Regions from separate parts of the Homo sapiens genome. Here region 2 is linked to region 1. Evidence: promoter capture Hi-C in 16 types of primary human blood cells and fetal thymus (Javierre and others, 2016). All regions are on one chromosome and are shown on one strand. The core of a region is centred on a gene start or on the middle of the fragment in contact, and the rest is flanking DNA. Distances in the headings are between cores, read along the strand shown.

What was found. Contacts are between HindIII fragments. The CHiCAGO score rates a contact against its expected background, and 5 or more counts as called.
Region 2: the fragment with the promoter of RPL26L1 here is called in contact with the fragment with the promoter of FBXW11 in region 1 in 4 of 17 cell types (monocytes, non-activated CD4 T cells, total CD4 T cells and 1 more); the score reaches 7.2 in monocytes.

The regions. Positions count from the first base shown.
Region 1 is chr5:172,002,774-172,008,323 of GRCh38, reverse strand. FBXW11 (F-box and WD repeat domain containing 11) reads left to right here and starts at 1,686. Exons shown (of 14, transcript NM_001378974.1): 1 at 1,686-1,866. The coding sequence starts at 1,822. RefSeq lists enhancers at 1,362-1,631, 1,175-1,802, 2,402-2,521 and silencers at 1,662-1,941, 1,952-2,061. The HindIII fragment of the contact is 14,963 bases long and covers 1-2,780 here.
Region 2 is chr5:172,957,838-172,963,343 of GRCh38, reverse strand. It overlaps RPL26L1 (ribosomal protein L26 like 1), which reads right to left and starts at 3,920. Exons shown (of 4, transcript NM_016093.4): 1 at 3,876-3,920; 2 at 3,303-3,479. The coding sequence starts at 3,470. RPL26L1-AS1 (RPL26L1 antisense RNA 1) reads left to right here and starts at 3,976. Exons shown (of 4, transcript NR_026682.1): 1 at 3,976-4,054; 2 at 5,087-5,205. The HindIII fragment of the contact is 11,810 bases long and covers 1,439-5,506 here.

The sequences.
Region 1 (5,550 bases), core at 437-2,936:
TCTGTGACCATGATAGATCCAGACAAATACAAGACCACTCTATAATCAGGTCTAAACACGATAAAAAGATAAAACCTGATGATTGTCCAAACCACAAAAAATGACTCAACATCCCCACTTGGCTAATATGAGGGAGCTGCTGCTGCACTTTTTTTTTTTTTTTTCGTTTTTGAGACAAGGTCTGGCTCTATCACTCAGGGTACAGTGGAGTGGTGCGATCTCCATTCACTGAAACCTCCACTTCCTGGGCTCAAGCGATCGTCCCACCTCTGCCTCCCAAGTAACTGAGATGACAGGCGCGCACCACCAGGCCCGGTTCATTTTTGTATTTTTTGTAGAGAAGAGTTTCGCCATGTTGCCCAGGCTGGTCTGGAACTCCTGCGCTCAAGCAATTCGCCTGCCTCGGTTTACCAAAGTGCTGGGATTACAGGCGTGAGCCACTGCGCCCGGCCAGGCTGCTGTTTCTTTATCTGCACAGCTTTAGCCTCAATCTAGAATTCCCTTCCTCTAGATAAGATGAACTGAGATGCTCAATCATGGAACGACCCTCTCTTCCTGACAGTATCTAATCCAGTGAAGCTCTCACTTCCTTAAACCCTCTCCCAAATCACTAACAACTCTTACCGAGAGGCCCTATCGTTCCTCAATGTGTGTTCTCAGTCACTGCAACTAGTAATAAACCCAGCTTGTTCAACGATCCGTGTCTTCCTGGTGGGATTTGGTTAGAGGGCACGGACAGACCTAAGTTACACAGAGTTGGAGGCTGAGTTCACTAGAAGGAGTCTCCGCTTGTGTGTTCCTTCTTAGCCACTCTTTTGGTTAGTGTCTGTCGTCCCTCCACCAGAATTAAGCTCCATGAGAACAGGAGCCTTGTCTGTCATGTTCAGAGCTGATTCTCAGCGCCTAGAACGGTACGCAGCGGAAGCTGGATGCTTAAAAAATAACCATTTTCTGAACGAATGAATGAGGGGCTCGATATACGCACGTCCCCTTTAATCTCGCAGCTCCTCGCAGATCGTGTGACATACAGACAGCACCACAGCACATTTCCCAAAACCCCGTCTTTCCCGAAGAAATCTCGAAACTCTCACTCCTGGGATGCCCATCCTCTCAGAGCCTCTTCCCCAGGCCGAGCTTCTCTCACTCGCTGGCCCCTTCCCACACCTGAGCCCCAGGTCTATACACCTTCCTAACGCACCTAGAACCCACCTGTCTCCACCATCTGCCCCTACCATCAGACACTGCCGGACGGGCCGCGCAGCTACCTAGGCGTCTAGGGAGCACTGCGGCATGGACCGCGCATGTGCGGAAATGGGTCGCATACGCAGGACCTCCGACAAGTGAGGAGTTGCCTCGGAGTTTCCGTCCCGGTCTGGGCAGCCTTGGGCTGCCAGGAAGTCAAGAGAAGCTAGCCGGAAGGACAACCCGGGCGCACGGCTTTCTGGGACACGTAGTCGTGGCGCTCTCGAGGCCCTGCCATGAGCAAGCTCTTAACTCTTCAGGTCTGCACGTCCTACGCCCACCGTCCAGTGCTACTCTCAGCTCGGAGTTCAGCTTCGGGCTGCCAAGAGCCAGCAACCTGGTGTCAGAGGCTCGGTCCCACAACGCTCTGCGGGCCGCGGCGCCTGCTGGGAGGTGTAGTCCCCGATCTGCGTACTGCGTTCGCCGAGGGGGAGGGCGGAGCTGCCGGCGGCCCGGGCGGGCTGGCAGCTAGAGTGGGTGCGATAGCCGCCTCCGCCTCTGCCGCCTCCGCCGTCGCCTCCTCCGCCCGGGCCGTTCGCTGCTGCGCGGGGAGAGCGAGGCGGGGCCGCCGGGGCCGCCATGGAGCCCGACTCGGTGATTGAGGACAAGACCATCGAGCTCATGGTGAGTGCGGCCCGCTGGACCGTCTGTGCTTCCGTCCGTCCGGCCCCGGGCGGGCCTGCCCACCTCAACGTCCGGTGCGAGGCCGGCTCTGGCCCTTCCCAGACGCCTCGACCCAGACCCGGGCCCCCAGCCTTCCCTGGCCTCGGACCTGGCGCGGGCTCCTCTGATCCCTCGACATCTCCGGCCGGTCCTGGCCCGGCCCCCTCCATGCCCCTCGCTTCTCCCCCTCCCCCTGGTCCCGTCTCCGGTCCCAGCTCTCGGACGACCCTCGCTCGTTTATGCTGTAGACTTAGGTCGCACTCGCTCTAGCACCCCATTCTCCTTCTTTTAGAAAGGGATTTTTTTTTCTTTCCTCTGTTTCGGCCCAGGCCCGCACCGCGCTTGCAAGCCCCACTCAGGCCGAGTGAGATGGTGGGAAGGAGTACGGAGATGGGTTGGGGCCGCCTGGGCCTCCGCGTCCTAGGAGAGGTCTCAGCACCCACTCCCCAGCCTAGGTCTGTGTGGATGCCAGGATAGGCCCTACAGAGCTGGGGGGGCAGGGAGCTTTCGGGTTTGAGGCTGTGGCGGATAAGGAGGCCTCTTTCCCGGGCCCTTGTGGTGTCCGGCTTCTCGGACAAAGGGTTTCCTACCCGGCGGAGAGGGATGTTTGCATAGCAAGGGCCCAGGTACTCTGGATTCCATCCTCCAGGAAAGAGAAGGCGCAACTTCACGTTTTCCAGAGCTGCTTTGGGAAATTGGAGATGACTGGGGAGGGAGCCATCCTCATCACTGCCGCGAGGTCTTTCTTCTCAGAAAGAAAAAAAAAAGAGGGGAATCCTTGGCCCCCGGGGGAAGCGACCACTCTTCTGTTAGAAACCACTGGCAGCCAGGCCAGACTCCCGGTCCGTGGACACCCTCCACCCTCCTCCGAAGCTTTAGGATTTGAAACCAGAAGGGGTTTTTAGGAACAGGACAGTGAGAGAGTGGCTAGAAGTGAAGAATTTGCTAATTGATGGATGATTTGGTGGAAGAAATAAAATATGGCAGATATTACCTGCCAACGTGAACATGAGGGAAATCAAATTGGGCTCTGGAGAGCTGGGAAGAGGAAGTCTGCATCAGCAAATGGACATGTCCAGGATTTCTTCCTATGGAAGCCTTGACAGTTTCTTTGTATCTTTCCTAACACGGTAACAACTTCTTCCCCAGGGTTGAGAGGAGAGGTGGAAGAATCTACTTAACCCAGCAAAATGTTTTCCTAGCCAGATTTTCTTCAGTGTGAAAATGTTTATTGAGTCAGTGATTCCACTGGGTAGGGTTGGTGACATCAGAGCCACTTCCCCCATTTAACGCTATAAATAATAAATGGTGACACTGAAAGTCTGTTGGATAGCTGCATGGTTTCTGTGGATGATGGTGTCTGGGGAGTTGAGATGCTTGTTTTAAAAATGGAAGTACAGTAGCATAAATATGGAGGCAGCTTAATGTTTGCTGTCCTTTGCATAATTCACAGAACTGGACTTCTCTAGCATTCTTGAAAACTAGGAGGGAAAAAAAGAAACTGATAGTTTTTGATTTTTGCATGCGTGTGTGTGTGTGTGTGTGTGTGTGCACGTGGGGTTGTTTTCAAAGGGATGTCACATACTGAGTGATTTTTCCTTTTCAGCATAATTTATCATACTTGTAGTCAAGTGTTTGGTATTCTGTAACTTTTGTAGTGGGTTATTTTGGTAACTATCTTAAATCGACTAAGTATATTACATATTCTTAAGAATGTACACACAGTGCATGTACTTACAACAGAAGTACTTCATATCGAAAAATTGTAACTTGGTGCCTCTTTGAAATTGGCTGTTCCCAGCTCCTTCCATTTCTATTCCTTTAAAAAATAACGAAAATGTATTTATTTTCAAAAGAATTATAAGAAATACGTTGTAACCCAAGTCAGTGTATGGTTACAAAATAAAAAAATAAAAACCTTTGGCCTAAATTCACTGGCTTCCTATGCTTATAACTTAAAAAGTTTTGATTTTACATGATAGCACTTGGTTTTGATCAGAAAAGAGATTTCAGCCTGTTAAGGACATTATAAACTGGGATTTAAACTGGAATTCTTTGAAAATTTAACAGAGTTTAGTTATATTACGATTAATTTTAAAATGGCCTTTTATTTAAGGATTTTGATATTTCCTGAAAGGGATATCAGTTAAGACTCTTAGACAACCCTTATCATAAATTAAATATGTGTATTTATTTTAGTAAAGTAGCACAGGTGCTTAACAACTGATTGAGTAAATCCAGGATCAAATGTAGGAAATAATGCCTTAGAATCTAATTGCATGTGGCTTTCTGTTTTCACTGCATTTCAATTACAGTTTCCAGAACTGGGTTAAAAATATTTTTTACATTGGTTTCAAGATAATACGATTGATGGAGGAAAAGGGGTTAAACTGATGGTGTTTTGAAAGCCTAAAGCATGAAATATTTTTAGATTTTTATGAGTCAGCTTCAGTACTCAAATATTTGTGATTGTGCTGCTTGTACCAGTTTGGCACTTAATGCTTAACAAGATAACTTTCATTTGCTGTTCCAAAGTGTGCTGTATTAAAAAGAGGAAACAGACTTCTTGGTTATCTCCATTTTCTAATCTTCATCCCTGTACTTTCCTTAATATTGATTCTTCTGTTTTTCCTTGCATTTTTGATAAGTATATTAGGAAATAAAGCTGGTGATAGCAGAATAGTTAAATTTCTAAAATATAACCCCCACTTTGACTCCTACCGCTGCCTGAGGCCTGGGTCCACCCAGGTTGCTTCTCCTCCTGACCCACTCTATAGGATTCAGCTTTGAATATTAGTAAAGTCTATAAGCTCTTAATTTAGACCCTGAATTTACAGTTACTAATGGTAAATAATTTAACCGCCAGATGACTTTTAGGGCCTTATATTGGCCCAGGGCTATACCTGTTAGTGGGCCTATTTTTCCAAACTTCTGAGTTTGGTAAAATTCGCCTTATGAATGAGGCAGAAAACTAGTAATTCATTTTGGAAATATGTAAAGTTTATCCGGCTATGTTCAATGGACTTCATTGGGAAGAATGAGAACTGTACAATATGTATCACGTGGTATTTATTAACCTTTGAGTTAGGAATATGACTTGATTTTCAGGCACTCATCACTAGAAAGCACTCACAAGAGCTTCTGATTGGAAGAGAAAGATGATTAGATTACCCTGTAAGAAGCCAGCAGAAATTGATGCTATCACTTTAGGAAAGGCGATCCTGCCTCCTCCACGGGTGTGAGTGAATCCCCTCTTCCCTTTACACAATTAATGGATGGTTTATAATTAATTGTTAAATGACTTCCCTTTTTGCTAAGTGACCTTAAGTGAGTCATTTCCCTTCTGTCTTATCTCTTAAGTGGCTGTATTACTTGTTCAATGAAGTAATGTAGGTTAAAATACACTGATCCTTATTAAGAAGGTGTGGGCAGGTGCGGTGGCTCTAGCCTGTAATCCCAGCACTTTAGGAGGTGGGAGGATTGCTTGAGCCCAGGAGTTAGAGACCAGCCTAGGCAACATAACAAAACCCTGTCTCTACAAAAAATAAAAAAATTAGCCAGGCATAGTGGTTCACTCCTATAGTCCCTGCTACTCAGGAGCCTGAGGTGGGGAGGATTGCTTGAGCCCAGGAGTTTGAGGTTGCA
Region 2 (5,506 bases), core at 2,671-5,170, 950 kb before region 1:
GGAGTGCAGTGGCGCAATCTTGGCTCACTGCAACCTCTACCTCCTAGGTTAAAGCGATTCCCCTGCCTCAGCCTCCCGAGTACTTGGGATTACAGGTGTGTGCCACCACACCTAATTTTTGTATTTCTAGTAGAGGTGGGGTTTCACCATGTTGGCCAGGCTGGTCTCGAACTCCTGACCTCAGGTGATCCACCCACCTCAGCCTCCCAAAGTGTCGGGATTACAGGCGTGAGCCACCGCGCCTGGCCATGATTTTAGATTTTATAAGCACATCAGGCACCATTGGTAAGCACCTGGCTAACTCCTCATTTCTCAGGTCTTCTCTTAAATGTATTAGTTCCTCAGAGAAGCCTTCCCAGGTCCTTTAATCAATATCATAGCATCCTTTATATTTTCTTCATAGCAATGAACACAATTTGAAATCATTTTATTTTTAACTGAGGCATCATTTACATACAGTAAAATGTACAGGTCAGTTTTGGCAGATATAAAACTGCCAAAGGATTTTTTTTTTTTTTTTTTTTTTTTGAGACAGAGCCTCACTCTGTCACCCAGGCTGGAGTGCAGTGGCATGATCTTGGCTCATTGGAAGCTCCCCCTCCCGGGTTCACGCCATTCTCCTGCCTCAGCCTCCCAAGTAGTTGGGACTACAGGCGCCCACCACCACGCTCAGCTAATTTTTTATATTTTTAGTAGAGATGGGTTTCACCGTGTTAGCCAGGATGGTCTCAATCTCCTGACCTCATGATCTGCCTGCCACAGCCTCCCAAAGTGCTGGGATTACAGGCGTGAGCCACTGTGCCTGGCCGTTTTTTGTTGTTGTTGTTGTTGTTTTTGAGACAGAGTCTCACTCTGTCACCCAGGCTGGAGTGCAATGGCACAATCTCGGTTCATTGCAACCTCCGCCTCCCGGGTTCAAGCGATTGTCATGCTTCAGCCTCCCGAGTAGCTGGGATTACAGGTGTGCACCACCACGCCTGGCTAATTTTTTGTATTTTTAGTAGAGATGGAGTTTCACCATGTTTCCCAGGCTGGTCTCAAACTCCTGAGCTCAGGGGATCCACCCGCCTGGGCCTCCCAAACTGCTAGGATTACAGGCGTGAGCCATCATGCCCAGCCTGCCAAAGGTTTTAAATAGGACCTGATTTGCAAATAATACCACTCTGTGGAAAATGGACAAAGGTAAAAGAGGGAACTGCAATGCTGCCTTGAACTGGACAGGAAATAGGTTCAAGACTTACTTTGGAGGTAGAATCAACAAGCCTTGATGGTAGATTACAAGAGGGGGTTAAGGAGCGTTGTTAAAGATAACAAAGGTTTAGGGGCATATGCAGCTGGGGAGATATAAATGGCACTTACTGGAGATGTGGAAGATGGGAGTAGAGTTGGATTCTGGAGGCAGTGAGAGTGTTAGGATCAAGAGTACTCTTAAGAAGCTTGAAATGTCAATGGGCTACCTAAATAGAGATGTTCAGTAGGTAGTCAGATCTATAGGTCTGTGTTATAGGTAGTCAGATATACAGGTTGTCTAAAGTGGTCTGGACTGGGATATAAAAGAGGGAGTTGTTAGCACACAGCAGACATTTAAAGCTCTAAGAACGGATTATTACCTATTCTTTACCTACGTAGAGAACACAGAGCAGAAAGAGATGCTAGATGTGTCCACTGGATTCAGTCACGAAGGGATTATTAGTGATCTACGTCAAAGTAGGTTCTATAATGTAGTGGGGACAGGGAATAGACTGAAGAGAATCCAAGAGTGAATGGGAGATGAGGAAGTGTAGACAGCTCTCTTGAGGAGGTTGGTTATGAATAGAGAACAAAGTGTAGTAGCTGGAAGGAAATGTGGGCTAGGGAAGTGAATCCAAATTTTCCAGCTCTCTTTGAAAATCCAAGAATCTAACAATGGGCCTGCATTTCCCCCAGGCATCAATGGGCTAAAGGTAGATGATTATATCTTATATGTGAGGCTTGAGCTTTCCAGTTTGCCATTTTCTATCCCTACCTATCCCCTATAAGTATTTGCAATTCCCCCATTCTAGAACATGTCTGATGGGAAGGATCCAGGAGAGAGGGGGTTGAAACTGCTGATCATACCTCTGAACTACTCTTTCCACTCTTCCTGTCACACTTCCGGCTTAACTCCACATTTTTTCCTCCTTAACATATCCCCAAACCTTCAAAGAGTCCCAGTGTCTCAGATGATACACCAAGCCTCATCACCTTATGTCATTTCATTCTCTAAGACAATAGCTCTTAACTGAGTGAGGGAAGAGTTGATTTTGCCCCCCAGGGAGCATTTGGCAATATCTGGAAATATTTTTGCTTGTCACAACTGTGAAGGGAGGGAGTGCCACTGGCATCTAGTGGGGAGAGGCCAGGGACGCTGCTAAACATTCTACAATGCACAGGACAGCCCCCACCCCCCACCCCCCACAACAATTATCCAGTCCAACATATCAATAGAGCTGAGGCTAGGAAACCCTGCTCTAAAACGTGATCTCCATGAGAACAAGGGCCTCGTCAATCTTGTCCTAGAACAATCTCTGGTAAGTGCTCCATAAATATTCCTTTGAGGAATGAATCTAGCCCCTGCTTATTTCACTCATATCCAACTCCCTTCCCTCCTCTCATGCATTCTAAGCTCCAATCACAGAGAACAGAGGGCTTGTACGTTCTCACATGGGCCAGTCTTTTAGAAATTATGAAAGAGTGACTCGCTGCATCTTTACCAGTTCTCCTGCCAAATCCAATGCTATCACATGGCCAGCTCCCACAAATCTCTGTCCATCAATCCCACTACACCCAAATACACTAAAACACTACTCTCACTGCAGCACCTTCCCCTACAGTCTGGTTCAACAAGCCACCCTGGGCAACAACACTTGGCAAACTAGCAGCCAGAAGGTTAAATCAAAAGTATTTTTGGTGGGGCACGGTGGCTCACACTTGTAATCCCAGTGCTTTGGGAGGCTGAGGTGGGAGGATCACTTGAGGCCAGGAGTTCAGAGACCAGCCTGGGCAACATAGCAAGACCCTATCTCTACAAAACAAACAAAAAAGCAGGTTTTTGCTTGGTTGACATACTGTTTTATTAAATTTTACTATTACTATTAAATAATTAAATGCTCTAAAGCAACGCAGGCACTCTCTGGTGGCTCTGAACCCTATCTCTGGCCTAACACATCTGAAGGGTCACACTACTTTCCAGAGTCCTGAGGCATGTGAGTCTGTGACTGCTCCACGCATGACGTTCTTAGGCAACGGTGTCCGAGCGCCACTAGCGCCGGAGGGAGACGTACCTGGACCTCGTCGTCCTTGCGGATGGGCATGGAGCGGACATTGTACTTCTGCCGCAGCTCCTTGGAGAGCGGGGATGACATGATCTTCCTGCGCACGTGTGAGGGGGCATTGAAGTGACGTTTGCGGTTTTTACTGCGGTCCGAGGTAACGAAGGGATTGAACTTCATGGTGACCCTCTACAAAGGGCGGAGAGAGACGGAATGAAGGGGCGCTCAGTGGGTTACAGGGGCCTGTTCTCGACCCAAGACACTCCTCATCCCCCAACAAAGGCTCTACAGGGGAGGTAGCCTCTGAAAAGGCAACTGAGGGAGGACAGAGAGATGCGACTAGTCTGACTATCACATAAAGTGAGGCGTGTGTGGAGGTCGCATGCCCGTCTAAAGGGGTCGTGGGGGAGAGGGTAGCACTGGGACCTTGAGGCTGAGGAAGGAATGCTAGGGTTAGGCAGGAATGGGTGGTCGGGAGGTCACTCAAAGAGAGCTGTGGGGTGACATGTGTTCCCGCGACACATAGGGCAGGGTCTCACGGGGCGGTAGAGTTCACTGTCCGAGAAAACTCCAGCCTCCACTCACCCGGCTACTAGCTGCCTCAGACCCTGAGTGCGCAGGGCCGGAAGTGAGTTTCCGTGCCGCGCAAGCGCAGAAAGACATCGAAGCCCCATTTCCGTAGGAGCGAAGTCGAATGGCGCCCCCAGCGGCTTGGGGTGGGATCTCAGTGCCTCATTCCTGGCGGCCCCGGGAGGGCGATGCCAGTGAGTACAAGGGCCTGCTTGTGTAGGGCCTGCGGTAGAGGCTTACTGGTGTTCTTTTTTTTTTTTTTGAGACGGAGTCTCGCTCTGTCGCCCAGACTGGAGTGCAGTGGCGCGAGCTCGGCTCACTGCAAGCTCCGCCTCCCGGGTTCACGCCATTCTCCTGCCTCAGCCTCCCGAGTAGCTGGGACTACAGGCGCCCCCCACCACGCCCGGCTAATTTTTTGTATTTTTAGTAGAGACGGGGTTTCACCCTGTTAGCCAGGATGGTCTCGATTTCCTGACCTCGTGATCCGCCCGCCTCGGCCTTCCAAAGTGCTGGGATTACAGGCGTGAGCCGCCGCGCCCTCCTACCTCTACTTTTTTCTATCTCTGGGACTAAACGGCGGCCGGCGGCGTGCCTGCGGGTTTGTGGCCGCCGCCCCGCCCCTCTCTCCTAGACCCCGCCCCTCTCATCCAGTCCCCGCCCACTCCGGCCGCTCCGCGCCCACCTGTGGCCCTCTTGGCCCTTCTGCCCGTGCCTGGCCCCGCCGGGTCGCTCCCGAGCTCCGCGTTTCGTTCGCCGACCCCTGGAAGACTGCCTGGAGGCCCGGGCGCCACCCAACCACTGGCTAGGCCGACACTTTGCGCGGACCCTGGGTGTAAAAGGTCCCCGGGTCTCTGGTCCCGACGGAGCTGTGAGGGAGATCAACCACGCCCCCTCCGTGGGCACCGTGGCGGCAGGGAAGGAAAAGGGCTCTGGGTCTCGACTCTCTTCGGGTTAAGAACCGACGGGGTTTATTCTATGCAAGGTGTTATTAACTCCAACTCTCCCTTTCGTTCATTCATTCCATATATGTTGAACGACAACTTAGTGCCAAATGCCGGCATGCTGAAACTCAGAGAGGGAAGATGTCTTGCAAGTACAGCAGCCACACCCAGGCAGGTCCCGTGCTCTCTCTTAGTTTATCAGTGTTCCCTGACATGTAGTGGTGACATTGTTAAACACCTGCGTTTACTAATACTAGATTTTTTTTTTTTTTTTTTTTGAGATAGAGTTTCGCTCTTGTTCCCTGGGCTGCAGTGCAGTGGCACCATCTCGGCTCACCGCAACCTCCGCCTCCCAAGTTCAAGCGATTCTCCTGCCTCAGCCTCCCCAGTATCTGGGATTACAGGTATGCGCCACCACGCCCGGCTAATTTTGTATTTTTAGTAGAGACGGGGTTTCTCCATGTTGGTCAGGCTGGTCTTGAACTCCCGACCTCAGGTGATTCTCCCGCCTCGGCCTCCCAAAGTACTGGGATTACAGGCGTGAGCCACTGCGCCTGGCCTACTAATACTAGGTTTTATTCCGGGCCCTTCACAGTTAATGTTGGAGGCCTCTGGAGGATGGCCACACCTGGGCTATTTGCAGAAGCCTGGACAGCACAGCAGGCAGAGTTAAAGCAGTTAAGGCAGTATCAGCTGAAGGGCCAC